Linked DNA regions of Homo sapiens: all the other regions are linked to region 2. The links are contacts of gene promoters, found by promoter capture Hi-C in blood cells and fetal thymus (Javierre and others, 2016). All regions are on one chromosome and are shown on one strand. The core of a region is centred on a gene start or on the middle of the fragment in contact, and the rest is flanking DNA. Distances in the headings are between cores, read along the strand shown.

The links. Contacts are between HindIII fragments. The CHiCAGO score rates a contact against its expected background, and 5 or more counts as called.
Region 1: the fragment with the promoter of FDXACB1 here is called in contact with the fragment with the promoter of TTC12 in region 2 in 7 of 17 cell types (naive CD8 T cells, total CD4 T cells, total CD8 T cells and 4 more); the score reaches 9.1 in naive CD8 T cells.
Region 3: the fragment with the promoter of PIH1D2 here is called in contact with the fragment with the promoter of TTC12 in region 2 in 1 of 17 cell types (non-activated CD4 T cells); the score reaches 5.5 in non-activated CD4 T cells.
Region 4: a fragment that was not itself captured here is called in contact with the fragment with the promoter of TTC12 in region 2 in 2 of 17 cell types (naive CD8 T cells and total B cells); the score reaches 6.0 in naive CD8 T cells.
Region 5: a contact is called between a fragment that was not itself captured here and the fragment with the promoter of TTC12 in region 2, in 1 of 17 cell types (total B cells). The highest score is 6.6, in total B cells.
Region 6: a contact is called between the fragment with the promoter of IL18 here and the fragment with the promoter of TTC12 in region 2, in 1 of 17 cell types (monocytes). The highest score is 8.1, in monocytes.
Region 7: a fragment that was not itself captured here is called in contact with the fragment with the promoter of TTC12 in region 2 in 2 of 17 cell types (monocytes and activated CD4 T cells); the score reaches 6.4 in monocytes.

Annotation. Positions count from the first base shown.
Region 1 is chr11:111,877,164-111,880,679 of GRCh38, forward strand. It overlaps FDXACB1 (ferredoxin-fold anticodon binding domain containing 1), which reads right to left and starts at 2,002. Exons shown (of 5, transcript NM_138378.3): 1 at 1,798-2,002; 2 at 1,393-1,549. The coding sequence starts at 1,969. It overlaps CFAP68 (cilia and flagella associated protein 68), which reads left to right and starts at 2,378. Exons shown (of 4, transcript NM_022761.3): 1 at 2,378-2,442. The coding sequence starts at 2,398. RefSeq lists enhancers at 1,670-2,289, 1,786-2,255. The HindIII fragment of the contact is 2,066 bases long and covers 719-2,784 here.
Region 2 is chr11:113,312,586-113,315,940 of GRCh38, forward strand. It overlaps TTC12 (tetratricopeptide repeat domain 12), which reads left to right and starts at 1,998. Exons shown (of 22, transcript NM_017868.4): 1 at 1,998-2,033. TTC12-DT (TTC12 divergent transcript) reads right to left here and starts at 1,871. Exons shown (of 5, transcript NR_199709.1): 1 at 1,745-1,871. RefSeq lists silencers at 1,809-2,058, 2,082-2,376, 2,269-2,368. The HindIII fragment of the contact is 13,389 bases long and covers 1-3,264 here.
Region 3 is chr11:112,072,322-112,075,753 of GRCh38, forward strand. It overlaps PIH1D2 (PIH1 domain containing 2), which reads right to left and starts at 1,696. Exons shown (of 6, transcript NM_138789.4): 1 at 1,659-1,696; 2 at 677-884. The coding sequence starts at 853. It overlaps NKAPD1 (NKAP domain containing 1), which reads left to right and starts at 1,978. Exons shown (of 6, transcript NM_018195.4): 1 at 1,978-2,595; 2 at 3,246-3,322. The coding sequence starts at 3,254. RefSeq lists enhancers at 1,781-1,830, 2,241-2,360, 2,421-2,470. The HindIII fragment of the contact is 10,336 bases long and covers 1-2,672 here.
Region 4 is chr11:112,205,709-112,209,200 of GRCh38, forward strand. All of the region lies in intron 8 of BCO2 (beta-carotene oxygenase 2), which reads left to right. It also overlaps the pseudogene MRPS36P4. Among named protein-coding and RNA genes, the nearest start is that of PTS, 19 kb to the right of the region's middle. The HindIII fragment of the contact is 1,552 bases long and covers 1,258-2,809 here.
Region 5 is chr11:114,442,040-114,445,263 of GRCh38, forward strand. It overlaps REXO2 (RNA exonuclease 2), which reads left to right. Exons shown (of 7, transcript NM_015523.4): 3 at 1,817-1,894; 4 at 2,502-2,613. Among named protein-coding and RNA genes, the nearest start is that of REXO2, 4.2 kb to the left of the region's middle. The HindIII fragment of the contact is 192 bases long and covers 1,749-1,940 here.
Region 6 is chr11:112,162,094-112,165,365 of GRCh38, forward strand. IL18 (interleukin 18) reads right to left here and starts at 2,001. Exons shown (of 6, transcript NM_001562.4): 1 at 1,813-2,001. It overlaps TEX12-AS1 (TEX12 antisense RNA 1), which reads right to left. Exons shown (of 3, transcript XR_001748384.2): 3 at 3,269-3,272. The HindIII fragment of the contact is 1,434 bases long and covers 1,242-2,675 here.
Region 7 is chr11:112,021,776-112,025,176 of GRCh38, forward strand. It overlaps DIXDC1 (DIX domain containing 1), which reads left to right. Exons shown (of 20, transcript NM_001037954.4): 20 at 1-878. Among named protein-coding and RNA genes, the nearest start is that of DLAT, 1.9 kb to the right of the region's middle. RefSeq lists an enhancer at 2,595-2,784. The HindIII fragment of the contact is 1,386 bases long and covers 1,459-2,844 here.

The DNA of each region.
Region 1 (3,516 bases), core at 752-3,251, 1.4 Mb before region 2:
AAGTAGCTGGAAGTAAATAGAAGCATAAATTAAATGTTCAACCCACTCACTGATAAGATTGGCTGACCAGGGTCTGCTTTGCATTTGTGTCATTCATGCATATGTCACAGAAAGATCAATATCTGCACAGTTCCTATATATGATTCATTGCTTAGGCTGTTTCTTCCCATTTAGAAAGTTCTTTTCACTGCCCTCCTGAAATTCAAATACTAGTTTAAAATACCACCTCTGTCAAAACTTTATTGACAGCTATGCCCCATCGGACACCTCCAATAGTATCATGTCTTGTGGTATAATCATGTAAAGCACTGTTTTCAGTTCACAATAATTTTATGAGGCTGTTAGTTACTTTTTTTTTTTTTTTTTTTTTTGAGATGGAGTCTTGCTCTGTCGCCCAGGCTGGAGTGCAGTGGCACGATCTCAGCTCACTGCAACCTCCACCTCCCAAGTTCAAGCGATTCTCCTGCCTCAGCCTCCCAAGTACCTGGGACTACAGGCACGTGCCAGCACGGCCAGCTAATTTTTATATTTTTAGTAGAGGCGGGGTTTTGCCACTTTGGCCAGGCTGGTCTCAAACTCCTGACCTCAGGTGATCTGCTCACCTCGGCCTCCCAAACTGCTGGGATTACAGGCATGAGCCACCACGCCTGGCCCAGTTAGTTACTATTAATATCCCTAGTTTACAGTTGAGGAAACGGAAGCATGTAAAGATTAAGTAAGCTTGCTTAAAATAACAACTGTTGGCCGGGCGTGGTGGCTCATGCCTGTAATCCCAGCACTTTAGGAGGCCAAGGCAGGCGGATCACAAGGTCAGGAGATCGACACCATCCTGGCTAACACGGTGAAACCCCATCTCTACTAAAAATACAAAAAATTAGCTGGGCGTGGTGGCGGGCGCCTGTACTCCCAGCTACTTGGGAGGCTGAGGCAGGAGAATGGCGTGAACCCAGTAGGCGGAGCTTGCAGTGAGCCGAGATTGCACCACACCACTGCACTCCAGCCTGGGCGACAGGGCGAGACTCTGTCTCAAAAAATAAAAATAAATAAAAATAAAAAAATAACAACTGTTAAGTGGTGGGCTGGGATTTGAATCCAGGCAGTCTGGCTTCTAAGTGCACGTTCTTAGCCATTAGACTATATGGCTCTCATTATTTTGCACTGTCAAAAATAAATGATCCTCTTTTACACACCCAAGAGTACATTATTTGTACTTTCATTTAGCATTTAGGGTTTATATATCTGTCTTTCCAACTAAACTTGGGGTTCCTTTGGGGCTTTATAGTCTCTTCTAAACATATCATAGTAGCTTGCACGTGTGCCTTATGTTTGGGTACAGTAACTATGTTATGGACATCTTAAACATTTTCCTTGTGAGGGCGCTCCTTTCCTCACCTTTGGAAAAATTTGGCAAGCAGTTCCCTGTTCTTAGCTACGCCAGCTTTGCGTCCACAATGCGGGAAGATGAAATAAATTTGATCAAATTCTCTCTCGTGCAGTTCAAAGACATCTGCCAGCTGGGTGCAGTCCACACCGAAACGTACATCGATACCTGGCAAAGATAGTTTGGGGGCGCAAAATATAGACAGGAGGATGCCTCAAGACATGGAACAGAAAAACTCTTCCTAACTTAAACCGTGCAGACCAGCCCAAGTCTGGGCACAAAGCCGGCTTTATGTGAATATCCGTGGGACGATCAAGAACAATCTCCACGTGGGTTACATCCCCACGCCCCCACCCTTTCCACTTTGGGACGCGCCGGCCGCTGGGCGGGGTTTCGCAGAGGGGCGGGCTCGCTACCTCGCTCGCGCAGGCACTGCAGATTCTCCCAGGCCAGTGGATCCCGAGCCAACTCGGCCGGGCGCTGGAGGCAGGTGGCGGTAAGTTGAGTGCTCTGATCCAGGGTTTCGCTCAGAGCGGCGGCGAAGGAGAAATTCCCCTCCCCAACCAACAGGAGGCGCCGAGGGGCCATGGCCTCCACGGACTCCCGGCTCGCGTTCTCTGTGGCGCTCGTTTTACGTCACTTCCTTCACGGATCTCTCTCCGCCCCGTCTTCTCCCGTCACTAGTTGATGACGCACCCATGGCGCCTGGTTGTCTAGACGAGCCGGTGTACCGACTCCCCGGTGGATGATAACTATGAGTGCAAAAGCAAGACGCGCACTTTCCTGTCACCTCGCCCTTTCACCCCCTCGGGAAGATCAAAGTGTCTTTAGCCCAAGCATGGCCTTGAGCGACTTCATCACACCTGCATGAGGTCACAAGCAGTCACTAGCGCAGGGGGGTGAGGCGAGTTCTGGGTGAAAGAAACGGGGCGGGGCTGAGGCCAAGGAAGAGGTTGGACTGTGTCTCGCATGCTCCTGACGCAGAAGGTTTTGAACCTTTTTTCACCTCGTCTGAAATGGCTGCCTCCCAGTGTCTCTGCTGCTCAAAATTTCTCTTCCAGGTGCTTAAATCTCCTATCTTCTATTCGTTCAAGAAAGAGTATTGAGTGTCTATTGCGTGCCAGGCCACTGTGAGGGTGGTTACGATATGTGGATGAACAAAATGTGGCCTATGATTTCAATGAGCCTGCAGTCTGGTGGGGAATGCACAGAGCAAAACAGGCAACTCTGATATGGCAGGGTGTGTGCTCTGGGAGCACACAGAAGAACGTTACCAAGTTTGGGGGCGAAGAGGGTCAGAGAGTCCTTGGATGAAGTAAACCCGAGTTGAAAGCTAACAGGGTAAAAGTGCATCTTAACTGAGTCAAGAGGCGTGAAGAGGCAGAAGGAACAATATATGCAAAAGCTTGATGGAGAAACAGAATAGTTGAGTTTGGCTGAAACACAATTGGAGGGAGAGTAACAGATGAGACTGAAGAGTTAGGCAGGGGCCAGGTCATAGGGAGCGTTGTAAGCCTTTAAAAAAAATCAACTTTTATTTTACAAATGGGGGTACAGGTACAGGTTTGTTACGTGGATATATTGCACCCAGGTAGGTTGCAGGTTTGCTACATGGGTATATTGCACCTAATAGTTTTTCAACCCACACCACCCGCCCTCCCCACTCTAGTTAGTAGCCTGGAGTGTGTGTTGTTTCCATGTTTAGGTCCATGTTTGCTCAATGTTTAGCTCCCACTTATAAGTGAGAATGTCAGAGGTATTTATACCAGAGCAACTCCGTCTTGAATAGGGGCTAGGTAAATAAGGCTAAGACCTGGGCTGCATTCCCAGTAAGTTAAGGCATTCTTAGTCACAGGATGAGATAGCTCAGCACAAGATACAGGTCATAAAGACCTTGCTGATAAAACGGGTTGCAGTAAAGAAGCCAGCTAAAATCCACCAAAACCGAGATGGTGATGAGAGTGATCTCTGGTCATCCTCATTGCTACACTCCCACCAGCGCCATGACAGTTTACAAATGCCATGGCAAAGTCAGGAAGTTACCGTATATGGTCTAAAAAGTGGAGGTATGAATTAATCCACCCCTTGTTTAGTATATAATCAACAACCATAAAAATGGGCAACCAGCTGCCCTC
Region 2 (3,355 bases), core at 748-3,247:
AGTACCCTATATCTTTCTGAGGATCCCTATGGTGTGCCTAGCCTGTGCTCATCAACGTCCTTGCTCCTGCCAGGCACCTACACTGTCTGCTACTTCTCCTGAGGCACCTCATTCCCTTGGGACAGCCACTGTGACCATGTCCTGCTGGGATCCCCAGGTCTCCTGCTGCAGTTGATGAGCCAAAAGACTCACTCTGCTGATGCTGTACCCATTCAGCTGCCAAGAGGAGCAGAACATCCGTGGCCCCTTTGTGTTATACTGCATTAGAGGGGTACCCAAGCAGGATGGTATGTGTACCAATGCATCATAGAGACTTCAGCCAAACAGCTCTTCTGTTCTCTACAGGACACAGGCATGCATCCTATGGGGCCTAGGCCACAAGAGAGTCAACAGGCTGTACTTGGAATCAACACTAGAGCTAGCTGGCCATGCCTGGATCCCTCTCCCCTCTGGCGAATTCCATCTCTAGGGGCTCCTTGTTCCCTGCCAAACAGGTTTCCATAAAGCACTCATTTGCCAAGAAGTTCCGGGTGTTTCTGACCGTGAACTTAAGCTCAAGTTTCCCCTAAACCTGCTTTTTTTCCATTGGTAACCCTGCACATAATACTCTGAGATTTTGTTTAGAAAAACAGACTGAAATTTCTTTAGGGCTGTGTGCATGTATTTGGGGCATGAATGAATGTGCCTATTAGCTCATTCTGTTCTAAACCCTATGATTCCCCGGATGTCACGTGCCACCTGTTCCTACTGACTAGGTACCAGGCACTGAAACCACCATTGCAAAATTATAACTGAGATGGTGAAAGGGATCTGACCTAACCGACTCCATCTTGCTTCTCATCTCCAAGCTGTCTTTGTTCATTCCTAGGCATAGGCCAAACTAACTTTGGGGGGAACTTAGTTTATAGTGTAGCTTTGAAACAAAGACAATACCAGCCCTTTCCCAAACAAACCCCCTTCTTGCCCAGGAACTAGACTGCCTTTTCAGGACTAACAAATTAGCCACAAAATTAGAAATTATGGTTTAGGAGTCATGCAGCTAGAGGCTGCAAGATTCTAAACCTCAAATTGCTCCTGGGGATAACATCAACTATTGTAAAACCTAAGATCAGTGCTTAAGATATTTCACAGACACTGCACTCGATGGATCAGCTGGCACCACCCAGATGAATAAACTGGCTCATCTGGTCTTATGACCCCCACCTGGCAACTGACTCAGCACAAGAGGACAGCTTTGACTCCCTGTGAGTTCATCTCCTAGCCTACCAATCAGCACTCCCGACTCACTGACCCCTACCCACCAAATTATCCTTAAAAACTCTGATCCCTGAAAGCTAGGGAGACTGATTTGAGTAATAATAAAACTCCGGTCTCCCTCACAGCCAGCTTTGTGTGAATTACTCTTTCTCTATTGCAATTCCCCTGTCTTGATAAATCGACTCTGTTTAGGCAGTGAGCAAGGTGAACCTATTGGGCGGTTACAGCACTTTAACCATAAACCTTATGAGAAAGTGCCATTTCTCCATTTCACAGGTGAGAAAACTGAGGATTAAAAAGGTTACTCAAATAACTTTCCTAAGGATAAATGTGTGAGTCTTCTAACTCACACATTTATCAATGAACAAAACCGGATTCACAAGTACACTGGAGACTTTACATTTTGGGCAAGGATATTAAGCTAACGGGAGTGAGACAACCCTTCTTCAGTAGAAAAAAGGCGAGCAGCAGGCGCTGCTTTAGTTACCAGCACTTTGCTTCCTCCGTCTCCCCGCGCCAGGCATCGGGCATCCCAACCTCGACTTTGGCCTTCAACTTGGCGCGCTCCGGAGCTAGAGCTCTGCGGTAGCGAATCTGATCGCGTGTCCATGCCCGCCCCCTGTCCCGCCTCCTGGCTTTTGACCCCGTCCTTGGTCCCGCCCCGGGCCCTGGCTCCTGGCCCCGCCCTTGGTCCCGCCCCGGGCCCCTGGCTCCTGGCCCCGCCCCAGCCCAGGCAGGTCACTGCGCCATTTCCTGTCCAAAGCTGGGCGAATCAGGTCGGTGCCGCGGGGTACCCCGGAATCCCCCCTGGGAGCTGGTCCTGCACTGGCCTTCAGAGCCGAGCAGAGGACGCTGCTTTGGGCCCCAGAGCATGGGAAGGTCTTGGCTGCGGTCTGGGACGGCTGCGGTCTGGGACCTGCATGGAGGGCCCGGGACTTGCGGACGCCTGGGAGCGGTTGCTGGGCAACAGTGCGTGCGGCCTGGCCTCTTTGCGCCCGGCGGGCAGCGCGCGTCTGGGGCAGGCTCCGCGCGGGGCTCGGGCACAGGTCCCCGCTGCCGCAGCCCTACCGAGTGAAGCACTGAGCGCGGCGCCGCTTCGCCATCACCTGGCTCTGGCCCTCTCACCCTAGCGTAGGGGGGCACTGGCCAGGCAGTGAGGACCCTGAGATCCATGCCCTGGGAGACAGAGGTTGTCTCCTGTCCATGCACCCGCGCGCCTGCCTTCTAACCTTCATACCGTTGGGCAGATTAATTCACTGGACTAGGCCTCTGTTCCGTGGGAGTTGAAAAGATTTGACCTGGAAGAAACCCTAGCGATTATTCAGTTAAGCCGCAACCCCACCCCCTGTTTTATATAGGTAAGGGTGCTTCACGGTGAGGACTCGTCGCGTGCCTGGTGCTTTACATCAGTCCCCAGAATAGTCCTCGTAGTTTCTCTCTTACTGTTCCCATAGTATGGGTGAGGACTCTGAGGCTCGGAGAGGTTGTGAATTTAGCCAGAATCACACAGCTTGTAACTGGTGGAGATGAGGACACTGAGACTCGATTAAATCACTCGTAGTTTGTTCGTGGCAGATTACGTGTTAGAAGCGTGTTACACTACTATGAAACCTGGCCATAAATGAGAATCACCTGGAAAGTGTTTAAAATCTATATTCGTGTCTGGGCAATGTCCCGGGTTTACTGACTTGAAATCTCGGGCTACGGCTGAGGAAGCTGTATATTTAACAATCTTCCCGATGATTTTTATGATCTGTGGATGAACCACTGAGTACTGCTGGGTACACCACGGGGCCTTCTCGCACAAAAACAACTGTAAAATAATATCTGAGGTACCTAGAGCAGAAGAGACGCTGGTGAGCATGGTAACATTATGTTCTAATCCCTTCAGTCAATTTGTACCCTTTCTTCACTCTTCAGAAACAAGCCAAAGGCAGATTTTAAACAAGTATGGACATTTAGATGCAAATTGCCCCAAGTTTGTTACCTGTCACACATCCACATTTAAGCTTCTGACTAGACCAGCCTGTCATGATCAAAGTCAGGTGTTAGTGTATTTCTCTATCCTTGGCAACCTGTCATCTGCTCTCTTCTCATC
Region 3 (3,432 bases), core at 446-2,945, 1.2 Mb before region 2:
GTTGCTTGAGGCCTAGGAGTTCGAGATTAGCCTGTGAAACATAGGGAGACCCTGTCTCTACAAAAATCATTTAAAAATTAGCCGGGTGTGGTGATGCCCACCTGTGATCCCAGCTACTTGGGAGGCTGAGGTGGGAGGATCGCTTGGGCTGCAATGAGCTGTGATTGTGAGCTGTGATTGTGCCACTGCACTCCAGCTTGAGCGACAGAGCCAGCAAGACCCTATCTCAAAAAAAAAAAAAAAAAAAAAAAAAAAAAGTCTGCCAGGCGCAGTGGCTCATGCCTGTAATCCCAGCACTTTGGGAGGCTGAGTCAGGTGGATCACCTGAAGTCAGGAGTTCAAGACCAGCCTGGCCAACATGGTGAAACCCCGCCTCTACTAATAATACAAAAATTAGCCGGGCATGGTAGTACACACCTGTAATCCCAGCTACTTGGGAGGCTGAGGCAGGAGAATCGCTTAAACCCGGGAGGCAGAGGTTGCAGCGAGCCAAGACCACACCATTGCACTCCAGCCTGGTGACAAAGTAAGACTCTGTCTCAAAAAACAAAACAAAACAAAACAAAACAAAAAAAAAACAAAAAAAATTAGCAATACCTAAGTGTAAAGTATTCTCTGGTTATTCTGGGATCATTTCATTCAAGACCTCCCCATCCCTGGCACCAACTCGACATACCAGAATCCTGGTCTGTAGACAAAGCTGTGGTTCTGGGGCAGCACAGAGCTGTTTCCCTTCTTTCAGCTGCTGCTGAATAAACTTCTCATAGCCCTCAGGGTCACTCTGAGCTAGATCATCTAGGAGGTTCCAAAACTGAGTAACTTGGGTAAGCAGACCTTTTGAGGATGTCTCCATGACTTATGAGTGGTGAATAATTTTCTTAAGCCTGTGGAAAAACACGACTTCAGGAAGAAAACTGTCTGTGTAATTATTGATTCATTTCTGCTTTGGGGAGGTGGAATGGGTCAGGAATTGTTTTGGTGAAGTTAGGACAGCATTTGTGTCTAAAAGGTTGTGGATCAGCACCACTTTATGTTTTCCTTATTCTTTAATTATCTAGTACCTCTTCCTAAATTCTCACATTGTCCTCTCAGATAAGGCCTTACTTCTATTTGGACCCTGACAAGTCAGAGTAATCATTTTAAGTCTGGGTTTCCTGATCTTCTTGTTCCAACACCTGACTGGTGGCTCCCCAGTTCTGAAATTGCCAGAGGTGTGGTGTGGGGTGAGGGCCACATAAGACTTCCTTAATCCTCAGTATAGTTTAGTATTTCAAAGCATGGACTTGTGAGCCAGAATGCCTAGATTCCGGTCTTAGTTCTATCTCTCACTAGCTCTGTGACCTTGAGCAATTAATGTTCTGTTCAAAATGAAGACGATAATACCTCTACCATAGGATTATTGCGAGATTAAGTAAGCTAATAGAGAGGCTGGGACACTTCTCTACGTCTTCAGATAAATCTCCTTAGCCTCTTCTCCCATTGGAGAGGTGTCCCACAGCATCTTTAGAATGAGGAAAAGAGGTTTAGATTCTTCAATTACTGTGTAAGGGTTATGCTAAACGGGAAACTTAACTAACGGATAATCATTCCATAGGTCTGCAAACCCACCTCTTCTCTCAGTTCTAACGGGTAATCATTCTATAGGTTGGCAAACCCACCTCTTCTCTCAGTTCCTTGACAAACCGCGACGCCTGTTACCAGGGTAACCAGCCTGGGTACAACATCTAATTGGGTCCGGGGAACTTCAGGGAGAAAAGTCTCTTCATATCTAGTTCCGGAATGTCCCCCTTCTGGTGCCAGGCTTGCTTTTCAGTTGGGCCTGACCCACTTCTCTTCCAGGAAAGCGCCCGCCTTCCTTCTGCACCCGTCAACCTCTGGAGTGTCCTGAAAACCCTCCCTTGTGGGAGTCTCTGGGCTGCCTGTTGGTGGGACGATTTCTCAGGAGCACGACTTCCGGCCTGAAAAGGAAGTCTCCTCCTTTTTCTCCCAAACCACTTCTTCCCCCCTACCCCCCGCCACGCGAGGCTGCGGCGCACGGTATGGGTGTGTTTGTGTGTATTTGTGTGGGGAGGGCGTTTGGAGGGAAGGTTACCGGGAGCTCCGAGGCCGCTGGGGAACAGGGATCCCGGTGACAAAGATGGGGATATTTCCTCTGTCTTCCACTTGGAAACCTCAACCCCCGCTTCAGGCTCCCTAGATACTTTCTGGGGCCCAACCGAAGGCCGTAGCCATCCAAAGCGTTCCCAGCCTTTCTGGGGAGTGAAACTTACCCCCGGGGTTCGTCCTAGAGGAGCGTGAGCGGGGAATGCCCAGGTCAACCGGGCTGTCCGAATTCCGCCCCGGCTCAGCCTCCGGCCTCAGTCCGGGAGAGAGATCTGCCTGTCGGTCTGGGCTGGGGGAAACGCGGCAGTGGCCTGGGCCACAGGTGAGGGCAGAGTAACCAGTGGGAAGGCTGCGTTTTCACGAAGGACTCGGGTGAAGCTGCAGAGCTGCCTTTGAGCCCTGACTCCTTGGCTTCCTGGGTCGGAGGAGATCTTGTAATGGAGTGGTTCTTCGTCTCACTAGCAAGATGCCTGATTTCCTCAGGATCAAGGGGTGAGTGAGCGTTGGGGTGGTTGCACAAAGCTCCTGCTAGCTACACACGAAAATATTCTTGTCATCTAGTTTTTGGAAGCTTCCGTAGCAAGTAGGAAATAAAATGCCCCCAAATGGAGAAATTTAGGACATCTTTGCATTTGATGTTTTGAGTAATCAGTTTCTGTTACTGTTGACACCCGTGGTTCCTGACACTCTCAAATCTACGTATTTGCTTCAGTGCAAACTATATTGGGATTGGAGGTTTGATTTTTAATTTAGACAGTGACATACATCATTTGCCTGGGACTATGTGGCTTGGGACGTTACAGCTTTAAGGGAACTTCATCTACAAAATAGGGATGGAGATACTTGCCTCATATAAAAAGTAGTTATGAGGATTAAATAAAATGGTGCTCATGAAAGCACTTAATTTTATGTAGTCTTGTGCATTTTCAAAGAACTTTAATGTACATTATCTCCTTTCATCTCACATTAGTGTGTTTAGGCATTTCCCTCTTTTAATGGTAAAGGGAAAACTATTCTTTAGAATCTCTGACTTCTAGTTCAGTGATCTTTCCTGTACCTCATATGCTTCTTTATAAAACTTCAAGAAAAGATAAAGTAATAACAGAAATTATTACTAAACGTTATTTGTTGATTCATTTCAGATTGAAGAATGTCCCGGATTCCACTGGGGAAGGTCCTCCTGAGGAATGTCATCCGGCACACAGATGCTCACAATAAGGTGGGAGGTACAACCTAGTTACTCCTCAACGCTTACTGAAGGCAAGCAGTGTGCCAAGCATTATTTTGGAACAACTGGGAGATACAAAGAATATTCTTGTCATCTAGTTT
Region 4 (3,492 bases), core at 784-3,283, 1.1 Mb before region 2:
TCAGCCTCACAAGTAGCTGGGATTACAGGTGCATGGCACCACACTCAGCTAATATTTTTAAAACTTTTTTGTAGAGACAGGGGCCTTGTTATGTTGCCAAGGCTTTTCTCAAACTTCTGGGCTCAAGTGATCCTCCTGCCTCAGCCTCCCAAAGTGCTGGGATTACAAGTGTGAGCTACCACACCTGGCCTCTATTTTTGGAGAAATGACTGTTCAGGTCCATTGCCCATTTTTTATTTATTTTTAATTAATTAATTAATTAATTTATTTTTAACTTTTAATTAAAAAGTAAACTTTAATATTGAAAATGCAAACTTGGGGAAGACAGAAAAGATCACACACAAGGCTGTCACTTCACACTTGGAAGGTTGCGCAGCGGCCAGGCAGAGGCGCTCCTCACATCCTAGACGGGCGGCAGCTGGGCAGAGGTCCTCCTCACTTCCCAGACAGGGCGGGGGCCGGGCAGAGGCGCTCCTCACATCCCAGACAATGTGGGGGCCAGGCAGAGGCGCTCCTCACTTCCCAGACAGGGCAGCGGCCGGGCAGAGGCGCTCCTCACTTGCCAGAGGGTGGGCGGCTGGGCAGAGGCACTCCTGGGGCGGCAGGGGCGGCAGCTGGGCAGAGGTGTTCCTCAGTTCCCAGACGGTGGGCGGCCGGGCAGAGGCGCTCCTCACTTCCCAGACGGGGCGGCGGCCGGCTTTTCCCATTTTTTAATTGGGTTATTTGTTTTTCTGGTATTGAGTTGTAAGAGTTCTTTATAAATTTTGAGGCCAGGTGTGGTGGCTCACGCCTGTAATCCCAGCACTTTGGGAGGCCAAGGTGGGAGGATTGCTTGAGCCCAGCAGTTCAAGATCAGCCTGGGCAAGATGGCAAGACCTCATCTCTACAAAAAAATTTAAAAATATACAAATTTTGAGTATAATTCCTTATTGGATATGTGGTTGCAATTTTTTTCCCCAGCCCATAGGTCGCCTTTTCGTTTTGTTGATTGTTTCCTTTGCTGTGCAGAAACTTTTAAATTTGATGTCAACTTGTCAGTTTTTGCAAGGAAAAAACCTGATACAATATTGCAACTGTAGATCAATTTGGAGACAATTGACATCTTTACAATATTGAGTCTTCCAATCCATGAACATGGAATATCCCTCCATTTATTTGGGTCTTTTAAAATTTCTCTCAGTAAAGTTATAGTTTTCAGTATAAAGATACTACATTTCTTTTTGTGTGTTTTGAAATTATTGTAAATGGTATCTTTTAAGCTTTCATTTTCTGTTTGTTGCTCTTTATAGAAATGCAATTGATTTTGTATATTATCTTCATATCCAGAGATCTTGCTAAATTCACTTATTAGTTCAAATAGTTGATCCACAGATTATTTTGGATTTTCTATGTGCACAGTCATGTTACCTGAAAATAATGACAGCTTTCTTTCTAATACTTAGGGCTTTATTTCTTTTTCTCGCCTTACTGTACCAGCTAGGACTTCGAGTTGAATAGAAGTGCAAGATAGTGAATAGAAGTTGAATAGGTAGTGTTGAAAAATGTTTAATAATTCATTATTAAATATAAAATTGCTATAGGTATTTTTCTAGCTATCTTTATCAGATTATCCTAATAGTGCCTTTTAATGAATAAACATTCTTAACTTAATATGGCCCAGTATACAGTCTCTTCCTTTATGACTTATACGTTGTACATCTTGTTTTAGACATCTTCTCATGGCAAGGTAATGAAAATATTATCCTATGTTATCTTCTAGAGAAGTCAAGTATCTGTATATGCATTATTCTGTTTCTGGACTGTATATTCTGTTCCATTGTTTCTACTTATGGTTACTTGTGCACTGCATTAAAAAAGTCTTAAGGTTTAGTGTCAAGTTATCCTAATATTTTTCTTTTGAAAAGAGTGTCATGGCCATCCCTGGCCCTTCACGTTTTTGTAGAAATTTTAGAATCAGCTGTCAGTTCCCCACACAAAAATATGGTCACATTTTAATTCTATTTGCACTGAACCAATGTATCAATTTGAGAGAGGACTAACCTCTTTACACAATGTTGAGTCTTCCAGTACGTGAACACAATATATCTTTCCATTTATTTGAGACTTCTTTAATTTCTTTCAATGTTTATAGTTTTCTGGTTACATATTTTCTGCATCTTTTGTTAGATTTATTCCTAGGTTTTTTTTTTACATTATTTTAAATGTTGTTTATTTTTTGCTTTCATTTTATGTTAGTGTTGCTATATAGCAATTTTTTTTTTTTGAGACAGTGTGACGGTCTCACTCTGTCACCAAGGCTGGAGTGCAGTGGTGTGATCTCAGCTCACTGCAACCTCTGCCTCCTGAGTTCGAGCAATACTCCCACCTCAGCTTCCTGAGTAGCTGGGACTACAGGCATGTGCCACCATTCCTGGCTAATTTTCATATTTTTTTGGTAGAGATGGGGTTTCACCATGTTGGCCAGGCTGGTCTTGAACTCCTGACCTCAAGTGATCCACCCACCTTGGCCTCCCAAAGTGCTGGGATTACAGGAATGAGTCACCGCACCTGGCCGGCAATTGATTTTTGTTTGTTGATTTTATATTCACTAATATAGTAATTACACTTACAAATTCTAATAATTATAGATTCTTTTAGATTTTTACATCTATAATATCATATGCAAGTAATGATAGTTCCTTTTCTAACTCTACATGTAAGCTGTATATTGGCTTTTTTTTTTTTGTCTTATTTCACTGGATCTTCAGTACAGTGTTGAATATAAGTGATGATAATGGCATCCTTAACTTGTTCCCAATCTGAGAGGCAAAGCTTGCAGCATTTTACCATGAAGCATGCTGTGGCTGTAGATTAAAAAAATATAATAGAAACTGTCCCTTCTCGGGGGTCATGATGGGCAGCAAGATGCATCTGCTAGCAGTGTCGTTCAGGTAGTCAAGCCACATGCTCCATTAATAAGCTTCCCTGCTGGAAGAGACAATCCTAAACCCAATGTACCAGAAGCTCTGAGATCAGCAGGGCAACCATCTCACGATTCTGCAATTTCCCAGCATTCTAAGGGAAGTAAATTACTGGATTTGTGGATGTACCAGACACTGCAGAAGTAATGAAAACATTACCTCAGAAATATAGAAGTAAACTTGTGTCTCAAGAAGAAATTGAATTTGTCCATTGTGGAGATCCAGAATAATCACTGTGGCTGCTGTTTGTCATCAGACAAAAGAATTACCTTTACAATAAAGGACTTCCAAAAAAAAATAGACTGTTTTTTAGAGCAATTTTACTTTTAAAGAAAAATCAAGCAGAAAGTATGGAGAGTTTCCATATTTCCCTCTCCTGCTAATGGTACATTTGTTACAACTGATGAATCAATGTAGGAGTGTTACATTATTACTAACTAAAGTCCATACTTTACATGATGGTTAGGTCTGTGTTGTACAGTTCTACCGGTTTTGAAAAATGCATAATGTCATGTATCTACCAATATCATAC
Region 5 (3,224 bases), core at 595-3,094, 1.1 Mb after region 2:
ACAGTTTAATGGACCCGTAGGTTGATATGTACCCTGGAGGAAATTTGGGTATGTATTCACACAGCTGCAGATGAATGCAGCATTTGTAAATGGACTAAGTCAGATGAGGATAAAGATGTTAAAAAAAAAAAAAAAGCTTAGGGGCTATCAGTTCTGCAGTATGTTTTATTCTTTTATAAGAGTCTGAGAAAAATGTTTTATGCTGGTAGAAGAGCAGGCATCCTACTCTGAAAATTTTTCTGTAGGTGTGGTCCCTTGGCTTGCTAAATAGGGATCTAAAATAGTTTGTAGTAGTTTGATTTTTCCATCATTGTTAGTATTTTTTTTAATAGTATGAGTATTTTTTTTCATTTTCATAGGTTTGGGTTTTCTTTTTCCTTCGTGACTATCATAAAACATCTGTTATCCAAGCAAAATTTTTTGTTTCTTCGCAGAGATTACCAACACCAGTTTTCTTGTTTGGCTAAATCTCCTTTTTAGTAGTAGGATGTCAGGCGTATTTTAATTAAATTCTAGCCATTTCTTTCAGTGATTGTGAACTGTTTTTACCACCTTAGTAGTAATAATACCTTGGATTTATGGAATACTTTTCTATCAGAGAGTTCAAAGAGCTCATATCTATAATTTCTTTTATCCTGTTAACATTTCTATGAGGGAAGGGGTACAGTTTATTATTATCACTATCTTACAGAGGGAGAAGCTGAGGTGACTTGCTTTAATGCCGTAGCTACTGTTAACTGCCAGGACTTATCTGAGAGACTCATACTTGGATGTTCTATGAAATGGAGCTGAGAATTTGAGGGCTACTTTGTGTTTTGGATATCAACAATTACCTCTTTAATTTTTTTTTAAATATAAAAATACTGTTAAAACAGTGTAACTATCCAAAGTATGTGTGTAGTGAACTATTGGATTTTTGTCCTGTTCTATTGCTCCTTCTTACTCCAAGTTTATGTATTGTCTTGATATTTTGTATGTTTATATAAATGCGTGTTTTTTTTAAAACAAGTGTAAATGAAATCATACCTATACATACATGGTTTTGCAATTGTTTTTTTCACCTGCAATATAGATACTTTTTTTTTTTAAGAGATAGGGTCTCACCCTGTCACCCAGGTTGGAGTGCAGTGGCATGTAGCTCACTGTAACCTCGAACTCCTGGGTTCAAGTGATCTTCCTGCCTCAGCCTCCTGAGAAGCTAGGACTGTAGGGGTGTGCCACCAGGCCCACCTAATTTTTTTTTTTTTTTTTTTAATTTTGTAGAAATGAGGTCTTGCTATGTTGCCTGGACTGGTCTTGAACTACTGGCCTCAAGTGATCCTCCCACCTCGGCCTCCCAGAGTGCTGGGATTACCATGCTTGGCCTAGACACTTTTCAAAATGAACTCATAATCAAGGGTTGACAGACTTTTCTGGAAAGAGCAAGTTATTAAATTGTTTAGGCTTTGAGTGCAGTCATATGTTCTTGTCATATGTTCTTTTTTTTTTTTAAACAATCTTTTACAAATGTAAAAATCATTCTTAGCTTTCTAGCTATTAATAAATAGCTGAAGTGTGGGGCCATAGTTTGCTGACCCTTGATAGATATCTGTGTCATCTATTTGTAGGATTAGAGTTTTCAGTGGTGTGTGTATGTTCGTATGTTCTATTTTGCCTTAATGAACAGTGCTGGAATGAAGGGGGAACACTTAAAGTATCCTTATCTCTTACTTTCTCTGATATGTATATTTAGTCCTTAAAACAGCTTAAGCTTTCCCTCTGAAAGTAAGGTTATTCCTGTTGTTTCTTGGTGACTGATGGCGTTTCCCATCCACAGGGTCCTAACCTGATTATAAAACAACCAGATGAGTTGCTGGACAGCATGTCAGATTGGTGTAAGGAGCATCACGGGAAGGTAACATTACCAAATAACAGGATTGCTGCTTTGGGGATCAGTAGCAAGCTTTTTGCTCCCACACCTGAATCCGATACCATTGTTGGATGGTATTTTAAAAAGGCTTAGAGAAGATTGCATGGCAAGCCTGGGAAACTGCTTGCTTGTTTACTTTTCATCTTTGGGACCTCTCGAGATCATCTTCTCCTGAATGTCCTCTTTTTTTTCTCTCCTACATTCAGTCTGTCGCGAACGCATTGTGGATTGTCAAGTATTACTCAAGTCAGTCTTTTGGATAAGGTTAGACATCAACTTTCAGAGAAGGGGGATTGCTGCTCTCCTGTTAATAGTTGTTTCTTCCCAGAGGTTAATATCCTTGGACTTTGAACACCGTCTTTTTTGACTGTGGACATGCTATTAACAGTCAGGATCATAACTAAGTTGGCTTGGATTCTTGAAGAAAAAAAAATGGTGCAAAGATGGCAGTTGCAATTTGAACTTGAGCTCTAAAAATGGTCTATTTGTGGTTATATTTGCCCATTTTAAAAGTGAAATTTCATTTCTGGATGCCTTTGAAAACTGACTTTACATGTGTTTTTGGTGGGGGGCTGGGGATTCTCTCTTGCAGTCTGGCCTTACCAAGGCAGTGAAGGAGAGTACAATTACATTGCAGCAGGCAGAGTATGAATTTCTGTCCTTTGTACGACAGCAGACTCCTCCAGGGCTCTGTCCACTTGCAGGTAAAATCCAATCCTGTGTATATCTTATAGTCTTCCATATGTAGTGGTTCAAGAGACTGCAGTTCCAGAAAGACTAGCCGAGCCCATCCATGTCTTCCACTTAACCCTGCTTTGGGTTACACATCTTAACTTTTCTGTTCAAGTTTCTCTGTGTAGTTTATAGCATGAGTATTGGGAAAATGCCCTGAAACCTGACATGAGATCTGGGAAACACAAACTTACTCAATAAGAATTTCTCCCATATTTTTATGATGGAAAAATTTCACATGCACAGAGGAGTGGATTTAGTAATTGTTAACCTTGTGTCGTATTTGTTTTACCTATTTTTTGTTGGACATTTTAAAGGAAATTGCAGGCATCAGGACACTTCATTCCTAAATACTTCATCAAACATCTCCTAAGATAAAGACATTTTCTTATGTAATACAATGTCATTGCATTGAAGATAATTAAACATTATTCAGTATCATATGATATCTAGTCCACATTAGATGTTCCCCAAAATATTTGTTTTTGAACCAGGATTCAGTCAAGGCTCGTGCATTTCATTTAGTTATATTTCTTTAGTCTCTTAATGTAAAACTTTCCACCTATTATTTTTCCCCTGTGTC
Region 6 (3,272 bases), core at 751-3,250, 1.2 Mb before region 2:
GCAGAAAACTTAAAAAATAAGTTTTTAAGTTTTTGTTTTTGAGTCTGTAGACTCAAAGCAAAAAAATCAAAATGGAACTGATGTAGTTTAAATGGCCTAGTTTGAAAAGGAGAATTGAGTTGAATCTCAAAGAATGCTTAAAGATTTGAATAGATAGAGAAGGCAATGGACCAGCATTTATGTGATAATCAAAACAATGTTGTGGTGGGGGTGAACTGAATAGAGCGATGTTTTTTTCTTTTCTTTTCTTTTTTTTTTTTTTTTTGAGACATGGTCTTGCTCTATCACCCAGGCTGGAGTGCAGTGACACAGCAAACATGGCTCACTGTAGCCTTGACCTCCTGGGCTCAAGTGATCCTCTTGCCTTAGCCTTTTGAGTAGTTGGGACTACAGGCACATACTACCACATCTGGCTAATTTTTGTATGTTTTGGAGAGACAGGGTTTTTGCCATGTTGCCCAGGCTGGTCTTGAACTCCTGAGCTGAAGCAATCCACCTGCCTTGGCCTTCCAAAGTGTTGGGATTACAGGAGTGAGCCACTGCACCCAACCTGTGATTTTTGGATTGTAGTGGAACAGTCCTGCTATTTTGCAGTGAACACAAGGTAAAGTCGGATTAGATTATGGAGGGCTTTGGAAATCAGGTAAAAGAGTAAATTTAATCTCACAGGCAATAGGAAAACATTGCAGATAAAAAGTTATTTTGAAGGAAGTTTGTTTGTTTTTTTGTTTGTTTTTTTGAGAAAGTCTCGCTCTGTTTAGTGGCTGAACTCACCACAGATTTGGCTATCCTGGGCTCAAGCAGTCCTCAGCATCCTGAGTAGTTCTACAGGCATGCACCAACACACCCAGGTAATTTTTTATTTTTTTGTAGAGACTGTGTTGCCCTGGCTGGTCTCAAATTCCTGGGCTCAGGCCTGCCTGAGATTCTAGGCATGAGCTAGTGCACCTGGCCTGAAAGAAGATTTAATAGAACGTAAAGTAGCTGAATATAGGCAAAAAGACGAATTTCAGGAGTCCTAAAATTTAGGGGGTCCTAATTTTTGTTATTCAACTTCAAACAGAGATATTTATTCAGCCCTTTCCTTAATTGTGAAAGAAAATTATCTCGGGGAATGCTATATTATCCAATTGTAGCCCAGTCCAAAGGTGTGGCAGATTTCACAAGATGACTAACCATGGGCAAATTTTTTGTTTGCTTTTAATGTAACTGATTCTGTCTTGAGATTCCGTTTAAAGAGAAGCTTATTTATTTTACCACTCTAAAGCAGCAATTCTCAGGGAGTTCCTAAAGTGAAAGCTATTTCTAATAATTCTAAGACGTAATTTGTCTTTTTCACTCATTCTCTCATGAGTGTACAACAGAGTTTACCAGAGGCTACATTCTGTGCAATATTGCAATAGTCTGAATGCAAAGCAGATGAGAATCCAGCAGATCTATATGGCTTCTATTAAACCAGTTAAAACACTTGTAAAAATAAAAAAGTGTCACTCTTTATGCTTTTTTTTTGTTGTTAAAAAAGTACATAGTTATTTTTAATTAAAAATGTTACTTATGCTAACATGTGATGTGCTTAGTGTAAAGGGAACATGAGAGCAAAAAGTTTGAGAACCTCTCCTCTAAAGTGATACTCTCCCATATCTGATAAAAGAAAAAAATTCTACTCTGACTTTGCTTATATTTCTTATGTTGATACTGACTGCTCATCGTAGTGATGCTAGATGGTTTATATTCCTCTCAATTGCTTTCTAGCTTATTTACCTCTAATTGCCATGGCTGACTTTCCAAATAAAGAGGAATGATATTTCTTACCTGCGACAAATAGTTTGTTGCGAGAGGAAGCGATCTGGAAGGTCTGAGGTTCCTTTCCTCTTCCCGAAGCTGTGTAGACTGCAGCAGGTGGCAGCCGCTTTAGCAGCCAGAGTTGGCAGCCAGGAGGGCAAAATGCACTGGGAGACAATTCCTTGCTGACTGTCCAGGCAGTCGCCAGGGGAGCAAAGGGCTCAGCAAGCTGGGGAGAGAATGAGGAAGAAGGTGGAGGGAGGAGACTGCTGTCGGCACTCCTTGGGCCCGCCTTCAAACAGGCTCTTTCCTAGGGCAATGGAAGTCGAAATAAAGTGGCAGAGGATACGAGTACTTCTTTTAATGTAATATCACTATTTTCATGAAATCTTTTCTTCCGTAAAAGTTGGGGCTCTGTGCCTTCCAAAACCTGTACCTCTTTCTGAGTATCTCTTTCTGACTTTAAGAAAGCACCTCCTTAGTCCATTAGAAGCATCTTCTTTTGTCATCTGTCTCTCTTCATTTTCAGACTTCCTGGTCACACTTCAGCACAAAACTTTTTCTTATTTTACAATGCGGAATAATCAGTCCTATTGGGGTAATTCCTACAATGTTACAACACTTAAAATATTTCTAAAATGTAACATTTTAAAAAAAGGAACATTTTGCAAATATTTTCTTTTACTTTATAACCTCATTCAGGACTTCCCCTTCCTCCCAAGCTCAATATGGTGTCAAAGGATAGTTGATACAGGCCATTAAGATTTACTTTTCAGTGGAACAGGAGTCCATTTTCATAAAACTTCTTTATCTGCTGTATCAGATGCAAGCCACACGGATACCATCATTAGAATTTTATTTAATAATTTTTACACTTTCTGCAACAGAAAGTAAGCTTGGGGAGAGGGATACCAAAATTCAGGTAAGAGGGCAAATATTTACTTGCAGTTTCCAGTGTTAAAACTTTCTATTCCTGGAATGATAGCAAAGACTGACCTAAAATATTTGAAATACAATTTAAGGATACATATATTTAGGGCTTATGTTCAACATGTTAAAAAATAGTCTTATAAAATGTAACGTTTGAAGAGCAGAGTGTAAATATCACAGTCTTGAAAATAATTAGTGGAAACAAAATTTCTTAGCCATTTTTTTCTTGAACATGTGCTAAACTGTATTACTTTGCTAGGAAGGGAATTAGCAAGGTGGCATTTTGTTTTTGTGTTTTGCCAGTACAGAGTTGATATAAAAACAGAGGGGTTCCTAGAGTCAGGGAACAAAATGCTTACATAAACACTACTTTTTGTTGGTTTGTTTGTTTTAAAAACAAGATAGGGTTTTCATTTCGGGAAGTCATAAAAACATCATGTCCTTCAACAGTGATTACAAAGGAAGTCTGTGGCAGGGTGGCTGGAAGTGCTTGGTGTGGTGACTATCAGAAGAAAAAAAATAGTACCTTTAAGAAGTATATGATAAGAATACATACGTGA
Region 7 (3,401 bases), core at 902-3,401, 1.3 Mb before region 2:
ACCAGCCTGGGCAACGTAGGAAGACTCCGTCTCTACATAGAAATTTTATTATAAAAGTAGCTGGGGATGGTGGCACACACCTGTAGTCCCAGCTACTCAGGAGGTTGAGGTGGGAAGATTGCTTGAGCCCAGGAGTTTGAGGTTGCAGTGAGCTGATCATGCCACTGCACTCTAGCCTAGGCTACAGAGCAGGACCCCATCTCCAAAAAAAAAAAAAAAAAAGTCATTTAAAAACTGAAGAATGTTCTCTTCTTGCTCAGTTCCCTAAATTAGCTGGGGGGATTGGGATACTTTACAATTTTTACATTTTTAAATTTGAAGAATTTGTTTTAAACTTACTTGGTAATGGCACTTCTACTTACTGACCAACTTTTCAGCTCTTTTTGACCAGGATGGTTGCAAATTAGGGAAAATATCTTTATACTATACATCCAATTCAAGAGGACTTTAATTACTTAAAAGCATTTAGGTCATAATTAAAATTATTTTCACTGTTTCCATAAAATAAGCATTATGATTGCACACTCCTTCTACTGTCTGAATTTATGTAAGAGGTATAGCTTGCTTAAAATACATATATATGTAAAGTTATATTTTCTTAGAAACATGGATGTTTACAGCCATTGCTTTCAAAGAGATTATTACTGTGTATTCTCCCTGTTTTACAATATGTTTTCATGAAGACTATGTTACACCAGAGGCTTCTGATTATCAAAGTGATAACCAGTTTTAACTGCCGGTATGTACCAGATTTGTGAACTAATTTAAAAAACCACAAACTATGAATAAAATGGGGTTTGCAAACTAAATATCATTAATGATTTTCACTTGCGTTTACTGATGAGATTAATCAATAAAGCCATTTACATTTAGTGAAAGCAAATTTCCTCAAGTGATCTCCCTGGTAGCATGTTTACTCACTATGTGGAGTGGAGATAAGAATTACTTTATTGCTACAGATATTTTACAATTAGTATTTCTATGTAAGCACATAGGCTATTATCAAGGACAATTTATTTAGCACTTATTTTGAAATTATATGTAAACATGCAAACAAATAAGAACCCAAGAGTATAAACTCTATGACAAAAGTCAGTATGCAAGCATTAAGAACTCTTTCAGAAATGTGTATTTAAAATGACCAGAATTCCCAGATCATTTGAAAGCTGCCTCTTAAATGCCTCTTATCAATTCATCTTAAATGTTTGCTATATTAAATTCTTTATCCCTGAGTGCCTTCATTTGACTTCCAATTACGTATTTTCAACTATTAATTGGCTATCCCATTATGTTAAAATTAAATATGTACATAACTCAAAATCTTTCACTACCAACTAATTTCTGTTTCTCTCAATATCAGTGATATCACCATTCTCTTAAGTATCTCTATTTCAAACCTTTGAGTCTTGAGTCTCCTTTTCCATAATTTCCTTTATCCAGTCTGTTTAGTGGAATTCAAGCTTGTTCTCTCAGGACTGATTTGAGAAACCTAAGCATTCCTAGCCCACCTCTGGGGTAAGCTCGCCATCTCTGGACTGTTTGAGCTATGCATTCCTATAATTTAACTACACTTAAGTCAAAAGTATATTCAAGACACAAACTCGCTATTCTTTGAAAAATGCAAAACAGGGTTTAAGCAAGCATACCTAAGTGCACAACAGATCCGGAAGATCACCTCATACTTTATACCAAAGTCTAATTTAGATCCAGTTATTAAGTTCAAATGCAGCAAAAGCAGCAAGATATTTTAGCCAACTCAAAAACATTTTTATAATAATTTATAAGTCCTGGGCGGGCATGGTGGCTCGCGCCTGTAATCTCAGCACTTTGGGAGGCCGAGGCAGGTGGATCACCTGAAGTCAGGAGTTTGAGACCAGCATGACTAACATGGTGAAACCCCGTATCTACTAAAAACACAAAATTAGCTGGGCATGGTGGCACGTGCCTGTAATCCCAGCACTCGGGAGGCTGAGGCAGGAGAATCGCTTGAACCTGGGAGGTGGAGGTTGCAGTGAGCCGGGATCATGCCACTGCACTCCAGCCTGGGCGACAGAGTGAGACTCCATCCCCAAATAATAGTAATAAGTCCTTTCAGTAATTACAATTATTCTTTCATTGCTTCTTCCAATTGTTAATTCATAAGTTGTACATAATTGTAACAATATAATTGCTCTCTTCATATTATTTAAAATATGCCTTTTCATTCAATCTAGAAATTTTATATTTCTCAATTATATTGCTTACATATTATTCTGATAGACAGCTGTACCTGCTTAAACATTCCAATTTAAGTAGGCATGAAATAGTACATCCAATCTGTTTTAGTTTTCCAAATTAATTGTTAGCAAGATTAGCCCCCATTTTTTTTTTTTTTTAACAGATGGGAGTCTCATTATGTTGCCCAGGCTGGTCTCAAACTCTTGGGCTCAAGTGATTCCCCCACCTCAGCCTCTCAAGCATTGCTGGGACTACAGGCATGCACCACCGCTCCTGGCTAAAATCTTGTTTTAAGTTTCTTCCCTCCAACTTCCTCTTGCGTTCTTGGTGTTCTCTAACCATCTCTACAGGGGGGAGGTGGTGATACACAGCACATGCTTCCTCCTTATCTAATGTCACCTTCAGTTCAGAAACGATATGTTTTCTAATTAAAAGACAACTTTACAAGAGAAGCGTGCCTAACAAAATGTGTAGATGACTTTTTATTCATTGATTCAAAAGACATACATTCAGCCCCCGCTATTTACTGGATATTAAGCTCTGGGGCTACATGGAAGGACCACGCAGACACTCTTCATGCCTTCAACGGCTTACAGTTAAGTTTTTCAAACATTTGAAACATAACGAAGCTTTTGGTTACTTAAAAGAATTCTATGGTATTAGGGAGCAACACCTGTTTTGTAAACCTATATCTTCATACAGGGAATATGCTTAATCTTGCTACAGTATACATGAATGCGGGAATGTATCTTCCTCTGGGCTGCCTTTCGTTACCACTTGGCTGGGTGGAACACCTGTTCACTCCACTTTCCACTTGGGCTACAAACCTGAAACGAAATCTTTGCAACCAGTACAGCCTGCGCGGGGCGCGGCCCAGTCCATCCCCCTTCGGATGCGCAGAAGCAGAGGTCACCACGCCGGACCCCTCGATTCCCTCGCGGGCGATTCCTGGCTCCTTCACCACCCCAGCACTCCAAGACCCCCGCCCTTTGGCCTGAGGCTCCCACTGCCCTAGCCAGTTCCCGGGCTCACTTCCAGCTTTTCCAGAAAGCTTGGCCACGCCCCTCGGCCCAGACTCTCAGGCCACTCGGCCGCAATTAACCCGCGTCTCTGCGCCTTTTTAGGCCCCTCCCCCTCGGTCGTGCCCTTGTCATCTCTTAGGCCCCGTCTCACCCTTTCGGATG